3 separate regions of the Homo sapiens genome follow, and regions 1 and 3 are each linked to region 2. Evidence: promoter capture Hi-C in 16 types of primary human blood cells and fetal thymus (Javierre and others, 2016). All regions are on one chromosome and are shown on one strand. Each heading gives the region's core, a stretch centred on a gene start or on the middle of the fragment in contact. The rest is flanking DNA. Distances are from core to core; before and after follow the strand shown. Region 1 overlaps LOC112268235 (a long non-coding RNA gene). Region 2 holds the start of SLC22A15 (solute carrier family 22 member 15). Region 3 has its middle 44 kb from the start of LINC01765.

The links. The method cuts DNA at HindIII sites, captures the fragments that hold promoters and counts their contacts. A CHiCAGO score of 5 or more calls a contact.
Region 1: a fragment that was not itself captured here is called in contact with the fragment with the promoter of SLC22A15 in region 2 in 1 of 17 cell types (M2 macrophages); the score reaches 6.4 in M2 macrophages.
Region 3: a fragment that was not itself captured here is called in contact with the fragment with the promoter of SLC22A15 in region 2 in 1 of 17 cell types (naive B cells); the score reaches 8.0 in naive B cells.

What each region holds. Positions count from the first base shown.
Region 1 is chr1:116,495,977-116,498,676 of GRCh38, reverse strand. The region is part of intron 1 of LOC112268235 (a long non-coding RNA gene); the gene reads right to left. Among named protein-coding and RNA genes, the nearest start is that of LINC01762, 19 kb to the right of the region's middle. The HindIII fragment of the contact is 1,376 bases long and covers 697-2,072 here.
Region 2 is chr1:115,975,245-115,977,944 of GRCh38, reverse strand. SLC22A15 (solute carrier family 22 member 15) reads right to left here and starts at 1,432. Exons shown (of 12, transcript NM_018420.3): 1 at 1,231-1,432. The coding sequence starts at 1,317. LOC101928977 (a long non-coding RNA gene) reads left to right here and starts at 669. Exons shown (of 5, transcript NR_125970.1): 1 at 669-848. RefSeq lists silencers at 1,046-1,295, 1,356-1,585. The HindIII fragment of the contact is 7,335 bases long and covers 140-2,700 here.
Region 3 is chr1:115,142,000-115,144,767 of GRCh38, reverse strand. No RefSeq gene overlaps it. Among named protein-coding and RNA genes, the nearest start is that of LINC01765, 44 kb to the right of the region's middle. The HindIII fragment of the contact is 186 bases long and covers 1,277-1,462 here.

The sequences.
Region 1 (2,700 bases), core at 135-2,634, 520 kb before region 2:
AATACTCATCTCTAATACTAATCTCAAAAATTGTTTTGAGTGTTAAATAGGAACGAATGCATATGAAACTTTAGAGAAGGGCTTGGCAGATGTTTTCTATGAAGGGACAGATAGAAACTATTTTTGGCTTTATTGACCTTACAGGCTCTGTCTCAACTACAGAATTCCACGATTGTAGTAGCGTGGAAGCAGCCATAGGCAATTCATCAAGAGATCAGCAGGGCTGTGTCCACTAAAACTTTATTTTACAAAAACAGGCAGTGGGCTGGGTCTTGCTCATGGGCTGTACTTTGCCTATCCTCACAGCCTGTTTCTGTGAAGCCCGTGAGCTCAGGATGGTTTTATGTTTCTAAAGGGTTGTAAGGAAAAAACAAAGAAAAGGTGACAGTGCCCAGAGCGAGTATTTACCACCGGCTTCTTGGAGAAGCTGGCTGGCTCCGCTCTAGAGCATTGCAGGAAAGTCAGCCCAGGAGGCAGGCAGCTGTGTCCCTGAGTATCAGGGGGCCTGCCTGGTAAGTCACAATGAAACAGACAGTGGCCAGATGACCCCTGGGCCCTATCCAGCTCCAGGGGCTAGGGTCCACATGACTCTGATGACCGAGCTCAGGGGCTAGAGGAGGGAAGGGAAATGGCCCCCTAGTTCTCTTTTCAGTTGTCTATTTCAGATGGTCCTTATGAAAGAGGATCAGCAAAGCTTCCATCAGAAAATGAACCAATAATCAAGTGAATGGGGCTTTCGTTTCCTGAATTGTCTCTAGCCTGTGAGGCTGTGCTTCCATATGGAACTTCTGAGTTCTCTACGAACTCGAACAATGAGTCATGGGCGAGCCCAGGACTCCCACCCACTTGGAGTCATGGGGCTCTGACATGGAGACAAGACCACAGGGTTTCTGTCAGGCCAGAGCCCTGACCCCTCAGCTAAGATGTTTCTTCTTTGTTCTAGATTCAGTCATATAAGCAGAGGCAGCAGGTACTAGGCCTCAGAGTAATAGTCCCTGAAGAAAATAAAGAGAAAGTCTGTCTGAGAAAAGCCAGTTGTGCCAGTTAAAGAATGACCTATGGCCACAATGCCTTACTGGAGGGTGCTTGGGAGCCCATGTCCTCATGTCTGTTGTATCGGGTTAGGGAGATCCTGGTGCATTTCAGTGGGGAGGGGGTTGCTGCTGGTCGTGTTTTCACTCCTTCTCTCTCCTTCCCCAGTGACCCCAAGACAAAATGCTGTTAGGTAAGTGGGGTCTGCTTAGCCCCACTAAGTTCCCCCATCCACCATTAGGAATCAGTGGTATTGTTATAGTCTACCAGGACCGACCTGGTGCTGCTCAGAACCAGGGGCTCAAGGCAGGGCCTCCCTTCATCTTCTTAAATTATTCTCTAGCAGCTCTGAGTCTCCCAAAGATTGGTCCTAGAGAAAAGACTATGTCATTTACTGCTTTTTCTGATGGTAAAAACATGCATATTTACTGCAGAAAATTTGAAAAATAGAGAAATGTGTAAAGAAGAAAACGTACAAAATAACTTTAGACTCAAAACCAATCTGATTAAATCAGGAAATCATTATTTATTGAGCACCTACTATGTGCCAGCCACTGTTGTTCTTGGTGCTGGGGACATAGCAGTGAAAAAAAAACAAAGTCCTCCCCTTCGTGGAGCCTATATTTCAGTAGGGACAGTCAGTACAGTACAGGAAGGGGCTGGGCTGATGGAACAGGATGCCTTTTTTGATAGGGTGGTCAGGACAAGAGGAAGCAAGGGATGCAGCTATTTGGGGAAGAGTGTTTCCAGCAGAAGGAAGAAGACCTGCCCAGGTGTCGGATAAGAGCCTGCTTGGTGCATTCAGGGATACGAAGGAGGCCAGCGTGGCTGAGATGAGGTAGGGGCAGCCGGGGTGAGAACAGGTGGGACTTGCCGGCCATGAAGAGGACCTTGGATTGCTGTTGAGTGAAATGGAAAGCCAAATGTAGGGTCTTGAACAGAAGAGGGACATGATGAGCCTTATGTTTTGAAATGATCATTCTGGACACCAGATGGAAAATAGACAGGGGCTGGGGGTGGGGTTGGCAAGGGGAGAAGCTTGGAAGCCATTTGGTTATTGCGAAAGTCACACAAAGCTGTGAAAGCAGAGCTGGCCTGGTTGAAGGAAGGGTGGAGGTGGGGGGAGGGCCGGCATTTCCTCCCACTGAGCCTCTGCCCTTCCCTTTTCCTGCTCTCTGAGGTTCCACCATGGGACCCCAGGGTACCTAGGATTACAATTTGAAAGCTATTGGACTAGAGGTTCTCTAAGGGCCCTTCCAGCTTTGCCTCCTGTGCTCTTGTGTTTCAGGACCATGCTGATTCTGTGGGACCAGGCCCGGGCTCTACCAGCCAGGCCTCTGAACATGTCAACTTGAGAACTGAACAGGTTCAGGGTCTAGGAAGGGGAGACATTTCAAAATTTTAATTAAAAAATATTTTTAACGTTTAAATTTTTGTAGAGACAGGGTCTTCCCATGTTGCCCAGGCTGGTCTCAAATTTCTGGGCTCAGGTGATCCTCCCGCCTTGGCCTCCCAAAATATTGGGATTACAGACATGAGCCATGAGATTTGGAAACTTAATTCAGCTCCCACATACTAAACGTGGCCAGCCCTGTGTGGGGATTGTAAGAGGGGATAAGTAAGAGGAAATGTCTGCTCCAAGAAACTCACTGGCTGGGATGGGAACTA
Region 2 (2,700 bases), core at 183-2,682:
GGCTAGAAAAAGAACTGACTCCATCATTTGAACCGTTTCTGGCTGATGATGAAATCAACTGAACTTCCAAACATTTTAATCAATAAGTCAACCCCTACCTTCCCCCATCTTCCTGTTGAGCCACTGTCTTATGCAAGCTTTAAGCAACTTGTGGACTGGTGGCTATATCCATGACCACTCTGTACTTCCTGCAGAATAACTATCATCACATGCTAACTAAATTACTTAACTGTCTGCCTGCCCCACCCGCAGCCACTGGAATGCAAGCTCCTGAGGGCAGTCAATGATTTGTCCACCATGGCATCCCTATGTTCAGCACATCCTAGCCCGTATTAAACCTGATGACTGAAGGAAAGAGTAAAATGGCTGGCTCACAGCAAATACTAAGAAAGGATTTGTGAATGAAATGCCTCTGGCATATTGAGAGAAGCGACTAATGTCAAATGAGCCATTTAAGTTGGTGAAGGACTAATCCTTGCCTGGCGCAGTTAATCTGTAGTGACCTTTCGCATATGGAATCGATATTTTGAGGCTGGGGTGTACAAGTAGGTTCTGAGAATTCTTTATAATGAAGAAGTGATTCCATTTGATAACCACACATGGTAGATGGCACTATTCGGCTCACGGGAGTCTCAGCCCAAGGCTGGCGCAGGGCCGAATGAGCCAGCAGAACTTAAACCAGAGGGAAATAAATCCTATGCTTTGAAAGCCCCTAGAAGAGTAAGCCCCCTCAAGCCCAGGAAAAGAGGCAGAGGACACCCGGCGCAGAGGGAGGCGATCCTAGACACAACCTTTTGTCTGCAGATTATCAAGACTGTGTCCTAGATTCCAAGGTGACAGTGCCACAGGTAGGGTAACAATTCCCTTCATATTTGCAGCGTGTTATAGGCAACAGCGTAGGGCAGGTAACACAATTTTGCATCCCTCCTTAACCAGCATAGCGGCTGAGAAACCTCCCCCAACACGCTCCTTCCACCACTCAAGGTGGCGGGGTGGAGGGCCCAGCAGAACCCAAGAGGCTCTGAGGCCGGCCGGCGACCTTGACGCTGCCGGCCGGGCCCAGGCCACCGCGCGGCGCCTCGCCCCTGCCCCACCCCGACGCTCGCCACACCTCGGTGTTTGCAGAGCCTCGGCCTCGGCCCCGGCCCCGGCGGTCTGGGAGCGGACGCCTAGCCCTGCGCCGGGCGGCCCTGAAGAGGGAAATGCGGCTGCGGGGCCGCGGGGACTTACCTGCAGCAGCACGGCCAGCAGGAAGCACAAGTACATCTGGTAGATGCCCATCTCCCCCACCGCCTGGAACGCCTCCTCCACCTCCATGGCGGGCCGCGCGCAGGAACCCCGCCACCCCACCGCCCTCTCAGGCGCTGCCCTCCCGCCCAGCGCGGCAACCCCTGGGCGCCCGGCACCGGCTTGGACCCGCCGGGGCGGGGATGGAAGCGCTGGCGGCGGGGCCGGGGCGGGCCGGGCCGGGGCGGGGCGCCTGCGCGGGCGGCGGGGCTGTCAGGCTCGAGAGGTGGACGCCGGGCGGGGAGCGGGGAGCGCAGCCGGGCTACGCGGGGCGAGGGGCGAGGAGGGCGTTCGAGATCCGGGGCTGGATGCCCTGGACCCGGGCCTCTGGACTTCCTGTTTAAAAAAAAAATGGTGTTTTGGTGTACGTTTTGTTTTGAGAGGGACCGCTGTCTGCGCCTTAAAGTGAGGAAAGAGGAAGTGGGCCGGGCTGAGGGCCTGAGAAGAAACATCGGGACCGCGTCCGCGTGTGACCCAGGGCTCTGCCTACAGGGGACCCGCAGCTGGCGGGCGGCCTGGCGGCTCTCAGCAATGCCTGTCGTTTTGCCCAAACCAGTTTAATGCGGGGGCTTGGGGAGCCCTAGAGCCTTCAGAGAAAAGTGCTGTCTGTGCAGCATTTCTTTCCAGTCCTATTCTGTGCTAGCCATGGGTTAAGTACACTGGTAGGCAAGCAAATTCTTGTAAAACCGTCGGATACATTTGCTTATAGAAGTATGCACGAGGTACAAAGGAAGTGCAAAAGACGAAGGGGCAGGATGTGATGGCTGCCAAGGTATTTAAAGGATAAACGGCAGTTTGTCAGGTGGAAATTAAAAAAAAAAAGCGTGGCAGGGCCAAGGGACGCTGGACACCTGCGTTAGTCCCCTCATGCCTCCACCTCCTAACCTCATTTGCCTTTTTGTTTATTATGTGTTGTCTTTTTAACAGCTGCATAGTATTCCATTGTCTAGACCATGACTTCTAGTTTAACATTGAATAGAAATGGCGACCAGCTAGTGTCCTTGACCTGCCAGTATCCTTCTTATGCTTCCAAAATTTTCCGTTAATTGTGATGTCTGTTGCAGCGTATTGGTAGCTAGGCTTTACTGGTCAGCTGCTTTCTTTTTTTAGCAATTAAATGAATGCTCACTGTAATTGAATTTATCAGTGGGTTGGAAACTGTAAACTCTATAAACTCTTAAGATTTTTTTCTCTCTCTTACTTAAGGAAACGTTTTCTGTATAAGTACTATTAATAGTTTAAAAAGTTTCCTTCTTTGGCTGTTTCCTACGAATCCTCATTATTAATAAATGCTGAAGTTTAATAAGTGCTTTTTGCATTTATTGACATGATCCTATTGTTTTTCTTCTTGAATCTGATAATCGGGTACATTATGGTAATAGTTTTTTTGATATTGAACTTTACTGGAATAAA
Region 3 (2,768 bases), core at 120-2,619, 830 kb after region 2:
TTATTATTGTTGTTATTTAACATCTGTTCTTTTACACAAGTGCAAAGTACAGCACAATCATTTCATTAGTGCCTTATCATCTGGGGCCCAGTCCCTGTTCACTCCAGAGACTTAATAGAGATGATTTGGAGAAATGCACTGGCATTGCTGTAGCTTTGGTATCATTCCTCCACCCAACGCATGCACCCACCCTTACCATCCAAAGGAAGGGAGTAACAGGAGGTCCACATGAGATTTTGTCAACAGAGCTGATCTTGTGCATAATAACAGCAGTAAAGCAGAGAGAGCCCTATCCTTCCGAACACTGTGGGAATCTGCAGTGCTCACACCTTCAAAGCCCTTGTGAGGAATGATGACAGGAAGACACACCAGAGTGCTCTTGTTCTCCCCCAGGGAGAATGTTTGCAAGTTAGAGAAAATGATGGTCTGTGAGTCTTCCTGTTGGAGAACTTCCCAAGAAGAAGATGATTAACTAGGTAATTTCTGGGAGTGCAGTGGTCCACTTAAGGCATTATCCCAAACCGTTTCTAAAATTCCAGGGAAATAGCACCTTTCCACCTCCACCCCTATTCTAGCACACTCAGGCCACATTCATAGGCCCAAGAGTGTCCTTGAGCATTTCAAATTTGGTAATAACCTCAAGCAAAAGGACACAGGAGATAAATTATCTGCCCATAAAATGGTGTGCAGCATCGTCAGACCTCAGAAGAAAGATCATTCTTTGGAACAAGCCTTCCCCCGCAAACACCTGCTTTCAACATTCACGCTCAGTATTGCTCAGAATCAATAACGGTGGAGTTCTGGAAGCACGCCTGGGGGGTACACTGCTTAAATATTATCAGCTTTCCTGATGCACTAAAAAAAAATTGAACATATAGACTTTTTTCAATTTTTGTTCCACCCTCAGTGCCTGTTACCACTCGCCTGTTAGCCAGAACTAGCATAAGACAAAACAATGAATGAGTAGAAACTATTAATGAAAAAAACTCAGAAACCAATGTGCATTTGTCCTTCAACACCTGGCTTTTTTGTGGCCCCAGGCTGCTTGTGGTTTAATAATGTGTGCACAGAATATAATCATTTGTTTGCTAGGGAAATTGTTCTTTGCTCATTTGAGGAAAATCAATAGGTCATATTTTATGGTATTCTGAAAATCCCTCTTGACTTTCAAGACCTCAGCCCCCTGCCTGGGTAGACTTGGTGGAGGGCACAGGATGTTGAGCTTAGTCTGGTTCCCACCCTTGGGCAAGTTCTTTAAACCCAGTTTCTCCAAGCTTCAGTTTCCAATTCTGTAAAATGGAAATAATATCAGGTCCTCCCTGGGGAACATTTTGAGGACAGAATGTAATCATGTGTGTAATTTGCCTGGTGTAAGCTAAGTGCTCAGCAAATGGTAGTGATCATTATCACAAGGACTAAATGAAAATACGTTTTGAACATGTCCAGCCCAATTCCTCAAGCTTGCAAGGTGATCCAAAAATACCACTCCTTTCCATTCCCTGCAATCACTTTCTGAATTCAGCTTCCCAGATGGCTGTTACTCCACATAAACCGTCCTCAGACTTCCCTGAGCTCTAGGAAGACACCTCTGTTCCCACTTGATACCACTGGGCTCCAGGGCTTCAGTGCCATGTGTAACCTCCTGCCCACAACCACCAGCTGACAGGAAGCTGAGGCTCGGGCAAAAATGAAGCTGGCGAGGGAGGGAGGTGTCCACATATCTACAACCCAAGCAGGTCTTCTGCTCACACATGGCATCCACCTAGGCCCCACGGTCATCCTCTCTCAGCTTTGCCTGCACCAGGCCCAGGAGTTTCAATCCAATGAAAAAAAAAAATTGTAAATGGCTCTCCCTTAAACAAAGAACAAGTCATCTCCATCCAGAAACAGCTAACTCTTGGAAAGACGCGGCCTGGGTGCTGCTCATGAGGTGTTTATCAGTTGGCAAAAGGACTCAGATTAAAAAGGCTCTTCTGGAGAGGAAAAGATGGCTGGCTGGGCAGGAGTGCTGCCCCATAGTGGCTCTAATTTTAGCTTTCTTAAAGTGAATCTAATTGTTTAAACAAGACTAAGCAAGCATGGAATTTGAGAAGGATAAGGAAGAAATTTAAAAAAAAAAAAAAGCAAGAGAATTTTTCCCCTAAAGACCCAAAACAAATCTAAACTGTAAGAATAGCTTTAAGTTAGTCATGAGAAAAAACAAATTCTACAGTGCCGAAAGTATTCAGGGAAAATTAACTTCCTCAGTTCAGTATAATACAGAGGAATTACAAAGGAGCAATGAGCCCAGAGTCCCCACCTTCACTTTGCTTTAGAGAAAAGAAATGCATAGAAAGTTTTCCAGCTCTAACATGTTTCTACTGAGAACACCAGCATCGGCCACTTCATGATTTTTAAAATAAGAAAATCATGGACTCAGTTAGAGCCCCAAGGACCTCACAATAGACCCATATGAAGGGATTTGAGGTGAGACTTTTAATTGATACATTCATTAATTTAGTCATTCAACAAACATTTTGTGGACATCTAGTATGTGCCAGGTACCATGCTAGGCACTGGAGCTACAACCAGGAAGCAGATAGAAATGATGCCTTTCTTCAAGGAGCCTGCAGACTCATGGAGCAGGAAGCTAATAAACCTGCCATATTGGGTGCTTTACAAACACGGAGGATACATGATTTGTTTTGCCCAGAGGAGTCACTGAGCTAAGGGACTGCTTCAGATGAGCGGTGACATTTGCCCTGGACCTTAAAGAGGAAGTAGGAGTT